Regions from separate parts of the Homo sapiens genome. Here regions 2, 3 and 4 are each linked to region 1. Evidence: promoter capture Hi-C in human tissues and cell types (Jung and others, 2019). All regions are on one chromosome and are shown on one strand. Each heading gives the region's core, a stretch centred on a gene start or on the middle of the fragment in contact. The rest is flanking DNA. Distances are from core to core; before and after follow the strand shown.

Region 1 (2,975 bases), core at 185-2,684:
GGGTATTTTTGGGGATTTAAAATCAAGCTCAGTTAATGTGGTCTATAGGGCAGTCACTAAGATTGGTCCATGCTAAAACATGTCTTTGTCAACAATTGTAGGGCCAACACACATACTTTCAATACTCTTTCTTGGCGAGAAGTATAGGAACTATGAGTAATCAGAAATAGAAGAGCAAAAGGAAAAGTGAAAAGATGAGAAGAGTCCATGAGAAAAGAGAGGCAAATTACAGGGAAGGAGAAAATCGAGGTTTTTGAATGGGAAATACAGTGGACATGAGAGGATCTGAGAAACAGACATATTTCCTGTCAGTAGAGGCCGAAGGTAAACAAGGATGTCGTGTAACAGAAAGAAATGGGAAGGCCAAGTTAAAGAAAAGAATGAGAGAAGGCTTGGAACTAAAACAGGTAAAGAGATAATGACAGTGAAAACTATCTCAGGCATGTCAACAGGACTGATAAGGAACAGTGAGGGACATCCAGGATCTCACATCAAAGACAGAAGGGTCAACATGTGGAGAGAGAAAAAGGAAGAGGGATCCCAGCTGTTAGGGGGAAAAGGTGCTGTTAAAGACAGCTCTAGTCTGCATTTTGAACCTTACATTCTGAAAGGAAGCACTTCACCAAGCCAATACAAAACACTGTACAAATCTCTGCTGTTCACAAATTTTAGAGTAAATAAAAGCAAACTAATGCTACACATCAAATACCTTAACTGGCGAGACATAATTCCTAGTTCATTTTAGCCGCCGGGGGCAAGAAGCTATCAAAGTGATTTTTTTTTTCCAGCACCTTAATGTGAGACAAGTATGAAGGAAAGACAAGTATGAAAGAAAAAGTCCCAAACCAATATTGCCCAGTAGTAATTTTCAGAGTGATTTCTCTTTTCAGTATAGACTTGGATGTATTCGGACCCCTTGGAGGGGGCGCCGGAGAAGCGGCCCAGAAAGTATTTCTATATTAAGAAAAATTTAGTTTGGATGCAAAGTGAGTTTTGCGGACCTCAATACAGCCTCGAGAAATCTGAAGTACTCCTCTACAGCGTTAATAAAGAAAGATAACTCAGATTGCCTGTTAACTTGCAGCTTCTCCTCCTCCCCCATCGGCTTCAGCCTGAACTCATCAAAGCACCGGAGGACAGGAACGGACCTTCTATCGCTTTTGTTTCCTGCGTGGCGGAGACTTAGAGGAACGGCCGGTCGCCTACCTGCCTTCCACTTCCCCGGCCGCAGAGCAGTTCGCTGCCGGCTCGGTTCGCCGCCAACCTCACCTACCGGCTGGCTCTCCGGCCTGACTCTTCTGGGATGGGTGGCAGGGGGTGGGGGAGACCTCAGGGGGCGGAGGGACACGAGGAGGCGGGCCTGACCCTTCCCCCAGAGGCAGGGAGGAGGTGCCGCCAGGGCGCAGGTGAAACCGACTCGGCCCTATCCCGGGAACTTTCGCTGTGAGGACTCGTTGCGAGAGGCTAGAGTCGCGCAGGGGCGGCCTCGGAGCCGCCCTCTCTCACGCAGACTGCCGCGGGGACTCAGCCTTGGGGCCACCCGGAGGGGACCCACGGCCCTCCTGGCGCGCTCACGGGCTGCGGGCAGCGCTGGCCTCCGCGGCTGATGGGGGCGGCTAGTGCCGCCCCGGGCGCAGGTGACACTCGCCCGGCCAGGGTTTCCTCTGGCTGGGGAGAGCCCCGGGAGGGCGAGACTCAGACACCTCTGGGGCGGAGGACAAGGCAGCGATGGCCCGAGAGCTGAGCCAGGAGGCACTACTGGACTTTCTGTGCCAGGCTGGGGGCCGCGTGACCAACGCTGCCTTGCTGAGCCACTTCAAGAGCTTTCTCCGAGACCCCGACGCGTCCCCCAGCCAGCACCAGCACCGCCGCGAGCTCTTCAAGGGCTTCGTCAACTCGGTCGCCGCAGTGCGCCAGGACCCCGACGGCACCAAGTACGTGGTGCTCAAGAGGAGATACAGGGACCTTTTGGGGGAGGAGGGGCTGCAGCGACCCCGCGAGCCGCCCGCGGCCGCCCCCAGTGCAGGGGGAGCTGCGCCCTGCTCCCCGCGAGGCGCGCGCCGGGGGGAGCCGCCCCAGCAGCAGCCCAGGCGGCGGCGGCGCGAGAAGGAGCCGGAGGAGGAGCCAGCAGGTGCAGCAGCCAGAGCCGCCGACGCAGCTTGCAATGGACTCCCGGGCAGCGACTCCCGTAGGGCGCCCGGGAAGGGCGGCGGATCGAAGGGCAGTCCCGGACAGAGGCCGCCGGTGCCCGCAGCTGCAGCGGCAGGGGCCCAGGCGAGAGCGAGCTGCGCGGCGGCGAAGACGCAGGGCCGCTGCTGCTGGGAATGCCTCCAGAACAACCTGGCTGTACTGCCGGGAGAGCTCGGCGCACTCCCGCACTCGGCCACCGCGGAGGAGAAGCCGGCACGGGCTCTGCCTGCCCAGGATGACCGCGGGGCTTCCAGGGAGCGGGAAGAAGGCGCGCTAGCTGAGCCGGCGCCTGTGCCTGCAGTGGCTCACTCGCCTCCCGCCACCGTCGAGGCTGCGACAAGCAGGGCTTCCCCGCCTGCTCTCCTGCCCGGCCCCGCTCCCCGCGGAGACCGGCCGGAGCTGCTGACCCCCAGCTCCCTGCATTATTCGACCCTGCAGCAGCAGCAGCAGCGCACTCGAGAGTGGGTGGCCAGGCACCCGCAGGTGCCCGAGGCCCGTGATCAGGGCCCTATCCGCGCCTGGTCGGTGCTGCCAGACAACTTCCTCCAGCTGCCCTTGGAACCCGGCTCCACGGAGCCTAATTCAGAGCCGCCAGACCCCTGTCTTTCCTCGCACTCTCTCTTTCCTGTTGTTCCGGATGAGTCCTGGGAATCCTGGGCGGGGAACCCTTCATTGACTGTCTTTCGCAGCATTCGTTGTCAGCTGTCCCTCCAAGATCTGGATGACTTTGTGGACCAGGAGAGTGATGGCAGTGAGGAGAGCAGCAGTGGGCCCAAAGACTCCCC
Region 2 (3,257 bases), core at 289-2,788, 200 kb after region 1:
TCATCCATTAATTGACAGGATGGTATTGGGTACTAACCCTGGCACCTCCATGCCCTCAGCAAGTTATTTAACCTATGATTTTGGTTTCCTCACCTTTAAAAGGGGATAGTAACAGTGCCTGCCTCATAGGAGTGTGAGGAAGATAAAATCAGCCAGCACAAAACGTATTAGACAGTGCTTGACTCCTAGTAAGTACTCAATAAATGTTAGGAATTAACACCTATCAGGTGCCAGCCTAGTTATATTTACATGTATTCTGTCACTTAATCCTTATAACAGCCTTAACCTAATAAATATTAATACCTCTCTTAAGGTATCATTATCACCATCTTGCAGATGAGGAAACAGCTGCTTAAAGGACTCTCCAAATTACTAGTGTAGCAGAGCTCAGATTCAAACGTAGGTCATTCTACTTGCACAGTCTCTGACCTTTCCACTGTACTCAATTGCCTTTATATAAGACCATTTTGTTTTTGCTATTTTTAGTAAGGAATAACAAGTGAAGCCTTAATGAGAAATGCCAATGTTTAAGAAAATAACATCAATTAAAAGAACTAGGATTTTAAACCTCCACTGTAAGCAGGAGCTTTTAAAACAAACAACAAAACACAAAAAAAAACAAACAAAAAGACTAGCCTGAGACAGACCTCTCTGCTCTGAGAAAAATTCCAAAAGAAATGTGTACACATTCACACTTGTGGCTGGAGTGTCTATGAACCCTTGAGGGTACAATGTCTTATTATTCATCATTGAATTCCCAGAGGCTAATGCGTTCTCAGTAAATGTTTGACAAATGTTTACTGAATGAATTAAACCAACCCAACAACAAAATGCCTCACTTGGAGTTGGCAAAATATATAACATCTTTCCCAAATGCTTTGTTGAACTTAAATTAAATCACTGAAGCTTAATAGATTAAATAAACTATTATAAATTTACCACTCTGTCCAAAGCATTTTACTGAAAAGCATGACGTTAATTTTGATAGAGAGATCGAGTTTTGTTTTTTTTTTCTACCTACATCTTTGGGAAGAGAATATAGTATGTTAACCTTTCATTTGGATTCCCAGAAGATGTTGTGAGCCTCATCTGGGAGCTCAGCTTCGACAATCATCATTAAATCAGTCCTCAGATCAGTCCTCAGGAAAAAAAAAAAAAAAAAAAGGAGTTTGCCTAGTGCGTAGTTCCTCTCTTTGGAGTTTACTTCTGCTGGCAAAACCAAACCCCAGTAGTATTTTGATCACGTACACAAGAACTTCACATTTTAAATCCCCACAACCTTAAAAAATGACTCATCAAGGGCCAGGTGCAGTGGCTCACACCTGTAATCCCAGCACTTTGGGAGGCTGGGGCAGGCAGATCACGAGGTCAAGAGATTGAGACCATCCTGGCCAACATGGTGAAACCCAGTCTCTACTAAAAATACAAAAATAATTAGCTGGGTATAGTGGCATGTGCCTGTAGTCCCAGCTACTTGGGAGGCTGAGGCAGGAGAATCGCTTGAACCCGGGAGGTGGAGGCTGCAGTGAGCCAAGATTGTGCCACTGCACTCCAGCCTGGGCAACACAGCAAGACTCTGTCTTGTTGCTTTAAAAAAAAAAAAAAAAAAAAAAACAAACTTATCAAAATGAAGGTATGCATAGTAATAATGATAAGGATACCAGTTAATATAAGATCCTTGATAATCTTAAATGATATGGCTTTCACAAAAGTGTAAATACTTTTTCATCAACTCCAAAATCACATATTATATTTATCACAGTGCCTGGAAATAGTAGTTGACATTTACTGAGTTCTTACTAAGCTAAGTACCTTCAGTCATTAACTCAATCTTTGCAACAACCCTATGAAGATGTTCTATTATTGTCCAATGTCTTGCAGCTCAGAGGTATTTATTTAATATCTTGTCCAGGGTAATATATGCCTAGAGGCAGATGTGGGATGTATACTCTTGTGTAACTCTAGAACCTAAGTTTTTCTTCTAATTCAGGTAATGCTTTGCATACAATAAAATGCACAGGTCTTAGGTGTTCAGTTCGATGGGTGTGGATAATTGTGTATACCTATGAAACCATCACGAAAAACAAAACATAAAACATTTCCATCATTCCAGAAAATCCCTTCTTATCTCTTTCTAGTCAGTCCCTACCCACTGGCAACCACTGACTTCTGTCATAGATTAGTTTTGCCTATTCTAGCACTTCATGAATAGAATTGCTTATTATTATTTTGTATCTGGCTGCTTTCAGTTAACGTGCTCTTGAGACTCATCCAGGTTTTTGTATCAAGAGTTCATTCCCATTGATCGCTGAGTCGTATTCATTGTATGGATGTGCCACTGTTTCTTTACCCATTTTCCTGTTGATGGATGTAGGGTTGTTTCCAGGTATTGGTCATTATAAATAAGGTTGCTATGAACATTCTGTACAAGTCATTGGTGGACATTTGTTTTCACCTATCTTGGGTAAATACCTAGGCGTGGAAATGTTGGGTCATAGGTTGGTGTATGTTTAACTTTACAACAAACTTAATTTCTTAACCCCTGTACTCTACACCTTCAGAATGGCACTAGCTTATTAACATGTTTTATTTTGCCTCTTATAAGACGAGTTCCTGAGGGCAGGGAACCCATCGCCAGTTCCTGGGATGCCTCCCACACAGTAAATGATTGCTGAATAAATGAATGACCATTGTTCATGCCCCTATTCCTTCTTTGGGTGTTACAACAGCATAAGAAAACTAGTTTCTGACATGCATGAAGAAATCCCACAAGCTGAAGGCTGTGAAATGGAGGCATTGCTCATTCAGGCAAGGTGAAGACTGCCCAGCCACCAGGCTCTACCTCCCAATCTTCTTTCTGACATGACCTTCCCTAGAAAGTGAACCCCTCTCAGTGATCCTGCAGGAGGAAACAGCTCCTGTTCAAGTGATACTACAGAAGGGGAGGAAGGTGTCAAGGCAATTGAGGTCACACAGTGGTTAGAATTACAGGATACTTCTGTCAAACAGAAAGTCAGAAGAAGCGGCAACCCATGAAATCCTGACCTTCTGGAAGTCACCAGCAAAACCTCAGCACTGCTGGACTCCAGGGAAACATCCTCGAACAGAACTTACAAGAATAATTGATTTTGGTCAAAGGTCTGTATGGGTTCTGCATGAAAAGGGAAAGCAAGAATAAACATTGAAGAGACAGTAGAATGTTGATGTTTTAAAAATGTAACCAGATTTAACACATAAGACAGGATTCTAAAAATAAC
Region 3 (2,986 bases), core at 112-2,611, 160 kb after region 1:
AGTTTCCCTGTTGAAACTCAAACCCAGGAAATTTATTCCCATCTCAGGGTCTCAGAGTCTTTGTACTCACTGCTCCCACCACCCGGAGTGCTCTTCACCTGGCTTACTCCCTCTTACTTCATTCAGAGAGGACCTCCTGGAACTAACTAAAGAGCATCTCTTCTCTCCTTTATGCCTGTTACCCTGCTTTATTTTCTTCACAGCACTTACCACTACTTGACATTATATCATATCCCTTTGGTTATGTGAAAGAGACTTTGACTGTATCTATAATATTTAAAGAACTGAAGTGAACATAAAATGCTTTTTAATTCTGTGGTAGATGTATGTATTTTTATAATATCATTCTATTTTGTGTGTTTAAAATACTTTTAAACACAGGTATCTACCAGGTACGGTGGCTCACGCCTGTAATCCCAGCACTTTGGGAGGCTGAGGCGGGAGGATCGCTTGAGCCCAGAATGTCAATGTTGGAGTTAGCCTTGATCGCATCACTGCACCCCAGCCTGGGCAACACAGTGAGACCCATCTCAAAAAAAAAAAAAAAAGTATTTTTAAAATATTTAAAACATAGAGCACAAAATAAGTGTATGAAAACATTTCCTAAAGTGTGCTCACAGAACACTAATTCCTTAGATGATTAAATATGTTTGGAAAATATTGAGCTAAATAAGCTAAACAATTTTATTTACTGCAAGATTTCTGAGTCTTTTATAAACTATTGTTCTCCCAAACCATTTTTCATGTGTTGTTCTAAAAGAGAAATATATAATTTAACTAAGAGATGTTTTCTAAACTTACTTGATCTCAGAAACTTTTTTTTCTAAGAAGTATCTAGTGGATTGTTATTCCACGGAACACATTTTGGGAAACAAATAATTGTGGTGCAGGGGGCTTTTTATGCCTTGTTCACCACTGTACTCCCAATACCTACAAAGCATCTGAGACATAGTGGATGCTCATACAGATTTGTTGAATGAATGAATCACTGATTTGATACTGCTATTTCAGCCTCTTGTCAGGGGGCTAGACTACATAACTTTTCAGTCTCTTCTAAAGTACTTTAGTACTTTAGAACCACTGGGTGAGATTTCCATAGGGCAGCAAAAACAGAGTGTCAAGGGTCTGACAGAAAGCAGCTGAAATACAATTTCAGTGAAATTCCAAATCCAACCTAGCTCACAGTTAAATTACACATCTTCAGTCTCTCCATACTTCTCTTTCTCTCTCTCTCTCACCTCACTCCTGTCTCTCCCTCATCCTCTCACCCCCTCTTACGCCTGCTTCTTAACAAGAAACAGATCCATAAATTCAGGACTGAGATTGGTTTCTGGAACTTAAACTAAGGCTGTCAGAGAGATACCAGCCAACTGATGTGGCACACTGGACCACTAGATGCCACTGTGCTCCTCAGAAACACACCTGGGGCACCTCTCCACCTGCCGCTGCCAAGATCAGATCCCACAGGTGGAACTCAGCATGGGGGTCAAGCCCTCTGCCAAAGCTGCAAGCCTCAGGCATGGTTTGTTTGTGCTGCACCACAGGGTGGTTTGTGCTGCAGCAGGAGAGAATGCACACGCCTGTAACATTTTGAGTTATTTGAACTTTCCTTTCTCCTTTTGTCCCCATGCAGTGCTTTTGTGCTGATGGTCCTTATGTCAGGAGGAACAATTTTGAAGCTTCAATCAGAGAGACAGAGTGGTAGATACAGCACAAGGGCAGATCCACCTGCCTAAGCCCCTCTGGAGGCTGGGATGCAGAGGAGGAAGGAGGAGGTGCAGAAGCAAAGCCTTGAAAATACTGTACTTCTGGTGCTGACGGCCCCATTCCCCTGAGGCCTACTGGAGCTCACCATAGTTACTGTAAGCAGTCATTCTAAGTACTGATTGCAGTGCTTATCTCTGCTGAAGGGCCAGCACATTTTTTAAGTCACAGTGTGGCTTTGGATTTAGGGCTTCATAAGAAGGTTAGGAGTAAGGATGCTCAAAGGACCCCACTGTTGAAGGGCACTCTGTTAATACATACCCACCTGCATTTATAAGTGTGTGCTGGCCATTCACCCTCAAGTTCAGTACCAGGTTTCATGGTGTCCTGAAGTCTTCAGCTTAATTATTATAATCAGTCATCATTCATTGAGTGCTTACTATGTACTAAGAATTGCACATATGCTATTTTATATAATCCTCACAACAATCCAATGATGTAGGTACTAGTTATTTTACAGAAAAGGAAGCCAAGATCAAAGGTTAAATGATTTGCTCAAGCTTACACCGTAGGGGTAAGGGGAGATTTAAACCTAGGTCTGACTTAAAGGCCCAGTCCCTTACCACTATGCTATTCTTCCTTCATTGTTAGGCTCCACACACCTTACCTTCTAAAGGCCCTCAACACCTCCATGCCTGTAAAGCAAAAGTAGTCTGGCTTTGTCAAGGGTCAGGAGACACTGCTAGGAAACCTGCTCTCTGAGAACAGATGGCTCAGACGGTGAGAATAATTTCTTTCAGGGTGATTGGGAAGGACATGGGCAAGGGAGAGGAGCATCTGTAACCAGGAAGGAACCAGGACATTATCTCTTCCTGTGGCCTGAATCCTACCCTGATATGCTGAGAGAGGTTTGTCCTGTTCAATTCCATGAGCTACTGTTCATCAGTGAGAGGTCTAGGATTTGGCCCTTGACTTGACCAGACATGAGTATTAAGGGCTGTGACTGAGTTCTGGCCTTGCCAAATGCATAGCTACCATCTGTTCATTAAGTAATCCTTCCAGAAGCTTCCAGCCTCCCCTCCTCCCCCCAACACACATGCACACACATACCAACACTTGCGTCTCCTTTGTATGTAAGGACTAAGTGACCCTTATTTTCCTGACCTCGCTACATTAGCGCTATCTAAGCATTTCCCAAAAGTGATAAGCTACGGAGTCTAACTCCCTGGGATCAGAAGATAGATTCCAGTTTGTAGGGGTTCCAAGTCTGAAGTGGAGGGGA
Region 4 (3,248 bases), core at 382-2,881, 220 kb after region 1:
CTACAGTGTCTAGTACAAGGCATGGTAGATAATAGATCTCCAATAAACATTCCTTTGGAGTTTTCAAACTACTGAGATCACAAAACAAATAATGCTTTGAAAACTGTTTTTAGAAATACCAGTGGTACTTCAATATCATGAATTAATGAGTGAGAACCCTGCTTCTGTCAGTATGGTAGTTGCCAGGTTAAGAATTCTGCTTTTTGTCCCCTTATCCAGCATGAGATCCCTGTTCTTCATAAATGGGTGTGTTTTCACCGGTGCTAATACGCATCTGGACTTTGAGCTTCCCTCCTACTCCCTACACACACCCCACCTTGTTTATCTCTGGTCTATGTTCATATTCATGTCTGAAGGGAACATTGGTCTCTTCCTCATGTGTAGGAATGAATAAATCTGACAGAACCTAAAAGCATACCCAGAGGAAACTGTCTAAGCCCATTATTTATATCCCTCGTTTTCTTATTAACTAACTGCCAGATTTCAGAAAACTGGAGCCAACCCAAGAAGGACCCCTGGCAGCCGGTATGAACCCTAAGACCAGAGACTAGTATGCCACAGTTGCTGAAGAGTGGGGGGAATGGGGAGGATGAGTGGGGAGAAGGTAAGAAATGGCTTCTAGAAACTTGACATGGCCGGGTGTGGTGGCTCACGCCTGTAATCCCAGCACTTTGGGAGGCCGAGGCAGGCGGATCACTTGAGCCCAGAAGTTCAAGACCAGCCTGGGCAACATGGAGAAACCCTGGCTCTACAAAAAATGCAAAAATTAGCTGGGCATGGTGATGTGTGCCTGTAGTCCCAGCTACTTGGGAGGCTGAGGTGGGAGGATCACTTGAGCCTGGGGACGCAGCGTTTGCAGTGAGCTGAGATTGTGGCAGCCTGGGCAATGGAGCAAGACCCTGTGTCAAAACAAAAAAAAAAAAAAAAAAAAAAGGAAGGAAGGAAGGAAAGAAAGAAAGAAAGAGAAAGAGAGAGAAGAAAATAAATTTGACATATGATCTAGGAAAAAAGGATTATTCTGCTTCCTGCTATTAGAGGACAACTCAGCCTCAATCCTCACGTTATGAGGAGTCAGAGAGGTGGCTAAAGATTCAAGGATGTGAATGAGTTCCTGTCTCACCTACCTGAAAATGTGTAGGAGAGAAGAAAAGATAAATAACCTATAGAAATATAGGATCACTGTTCATAGAAAACAGGTATCTCTTATATTAAAAATACTTTAAAATTTTGACTTTTCGACATATGAATTGATGAAAACATTATACAGAATCAGAAAAGTCCATCTTTTTAATTCTAATTTACAAACAACAGTAAGGCTGGGCATGGTGGCTCATGCCTGTAATCCTAGCACTTTGGGAAGTAGAGGTGGGAGGATCGCTTGAGGCCAGGAGTTTCAGACCAGCCTGGTCAACATAGCAAGACCCCTGTCTCTACAAAAGAAAAAAAAAGTAGTTGGGTGTGGTGGCACATACCTGTAATCCTAGCTACTTGGGAGTCTGAGGCAGGAGGATCACTTGACCCCAGGAGTTCAATGTTACAGTGAGCTACGATTGCGCCACTGCAGTCTAGCTTAGGCAACAAAGTGAAACCCTGTCTCAAAATAAACAAATAAATAAATATTTTTAAAACACAACAGTAAAGTGGGGACACGGGGGTTGTTTAATGGATATAGAGTTTCAGTTTTGCAAGATGAAAAAGTTCAGGAGATCTGTTGTACCACAATGTGAATATACTTAATACTACTGAATTGCACGCTTATAAGTGGTGAAGGTGGTAAATTTTATGTTATGTATTTTTCATCACAATTAAAATTTTTTTTAACAAAAACACAGTAAAGAACAAGTATGAAAAAGAAGAAAATAGCCTAATTCATTCTGAAGAGGAAAATACACTATTGCTCAATTTGGCTGCTATTTAAACCCCACCCCACTCCTCCACCCTTGGCTTTTTTCTCTCAGCAAGCTGCCTAGCAGTTACTCTTAAACATCCTTTCTCTTTATGTAGACAAAAAGGACAAAAAACAGAAAAATATAAGACTTTACAGAAACAGAGAGGAGAACTGTGGATCTTCTTCAGAAAAAAAAAATCTTTCTTTCTAAACCATTGGCCAATAAGATTATTTTTAAAATTACCTTGGTATAATATATAATGGCAAAAGAAGCTTTTGAAGACCCAAATAAGACTATATTAAGTCCCTAATCACACAGTGTGATTCCAACTCAAGTCTGATAGAGATTCATAGAGCTAACCGTTGAAGACAGTCATGGCGACAGGCAAAATGAGAAGCTTAAGGAACCCAACTCAATTACTTATTACCTGGGCTACCTACCCACCCTCACCCCATCCCACTTTTTCTTTCTTATCCAGTGGGGAGGCTAAGCTGTTTATATTGACTGATTTAATTAGGGAAGGGACTTTTCAAAAAATCTGGCCTAGTTTTGAGTTTATTTTTGAAATGGGTGTTTCTTGATCAAAGCGACAAACAGCAAATGTTGTTTTGATGTATGCTCCCTTTAGTTTGGAAATTTGTAGGGAAGAGAACTTTTTTAAGGGCAATGAGGCAGAATCCCCTTAATGCAAGTAATATTTTTTCACCAAATTAAAATGCATGTATCCGGCCGGGCATGAGCCACCATACCCTGTAATCCCAGCACTTTGGGAGGCCGAGGCAGGCGGATCACGAGGTCAGGAGATGAGACCATCCTGGCTAACATGGTGAAACCCTGTCTTTACTAAAAATACAAAAAATTAGCCAGGCGTGGTGGCGGGAGCCTGTAGTCCCAACTACTCAGGAGGTTGAGGCAGGAGAATGGTGTGAACCCAGGAGGCGGAGCTAGCAGTGAGCTGAGATCACGCCACTGCACTCTAGCCTGGGTGACAGAGCGAGACTTGGTCTAAAAAACAAAAAAAATGCATGTATCCTTTACAAAATGGTGACATATCAGTAGCTTTTCTTTGGGGAGTAACTAAGTTTCAAGTCAACTTGCCACATAGTTTAAGCTTACTGTTCCTATCAAAAGAAGCTGGTGAGCAGAGAGAAACGGTATTCTTTTTTTTTTTTTTTTTTTGGTCCCTAATTTGAAGTAACAGAGTAAGTTCCAGTAAAAAGAATTTAATTAAAACATTTAAGATATATGCCTGCTGAAGCAATATCCTCAATGCCAACAATAGGGATAGAATTATTCTCTGGTTTTCTTTTCTCTCCGAAAATATTACCTTAGTTTCTTTTAACCAAATAACCTTAGCAC

The links. The method cuts DNA at HindIII sites, captures the fragments that hold promoters and counts their contacts. A contact is called where the count stands out against the background at its distance.
Region 2: a contact is called between a fragment that was not itself captured here and the fragment with the promoter of SOWAHB in region 1, in 1 of the 25 tissues and cell types used here (IMR-90 fibroblasts).
Region 3: a fragment that was not itself captured here is called in contact with the fragment with the promoter of SOWAHB in region 1 in 3 of the 25 tissues and cell types used here (IMR-90 fibroblasts, aorta and dorsolateral prefrontal cortex).
Region 4: a contact is called between a fragment that was not itself captured here and the fragment with the promoter of SOWAHB in region 1, in 1 of the 25 tissues and cell types used here (liver).

Annotation. Positions count from the first base shown.
Region 1 is chr4:76,896,603-76,899,577 of GRCh38, reverse strand. It overlaps SOWAHB (sosondowah ankyrin repeat domain family member B), which reads left to right and starts at 1,434. Exons shown (of 1, transcript NM_001029870.3): 1 at 1,434-2,975. The coding sequence starts at 1,729. RefSeq lists silencers at 1,274-1,343, 1,414-1,713, 1,974-2,083. The HindIII fragment of the contact is 8,540 bases long and covers 1-2,975 here.
Region 2 is chr4:76,691,728-76,694,984 of GRCh38, reverse strand. The region is part of intron 2 of SHROOM3 (shroom family member 3); the gene reads right to left. Among named protein-coding and RNA genes, the nearest start is that of SHROOM3-AS1, 110 kb to the left of the region's middle. The HindIII fragment of the contact is 4,768 bases long and covers 1-3,257 here.
Region 3 is chr4:76,732,076-76,735,061 of GRCh38, reverse strand. All of the region lies in intron 4 of SHROOM3 (shroom family member 3), which reads right to left. The region is part of intron 2 of SHROOM3-AS1 (SHROOM3 antisense RNA 1); the gene reads left to right. Among named protein-coding and RNA genes, the nearest start is that of SHROOM3-AS1, 69 kb to the left of the region's middle. The HindIII fragment of the contact is 4,090 bases long and covers 1-2,986 here.
Region 4 is chr4:76,672,240-76,675,487 of GRCh38, reverse strand. The region is part of intron 2 of SHROOM3 (shroom family member 3); the gene reads right to left. Among named protein-coding and RNA genes, the nearest start is that of MIR548AH, 98 kb to the right of the region's middle. The HindIII fragment of the contact is 5,192 bases long and covers 1-3,248 here.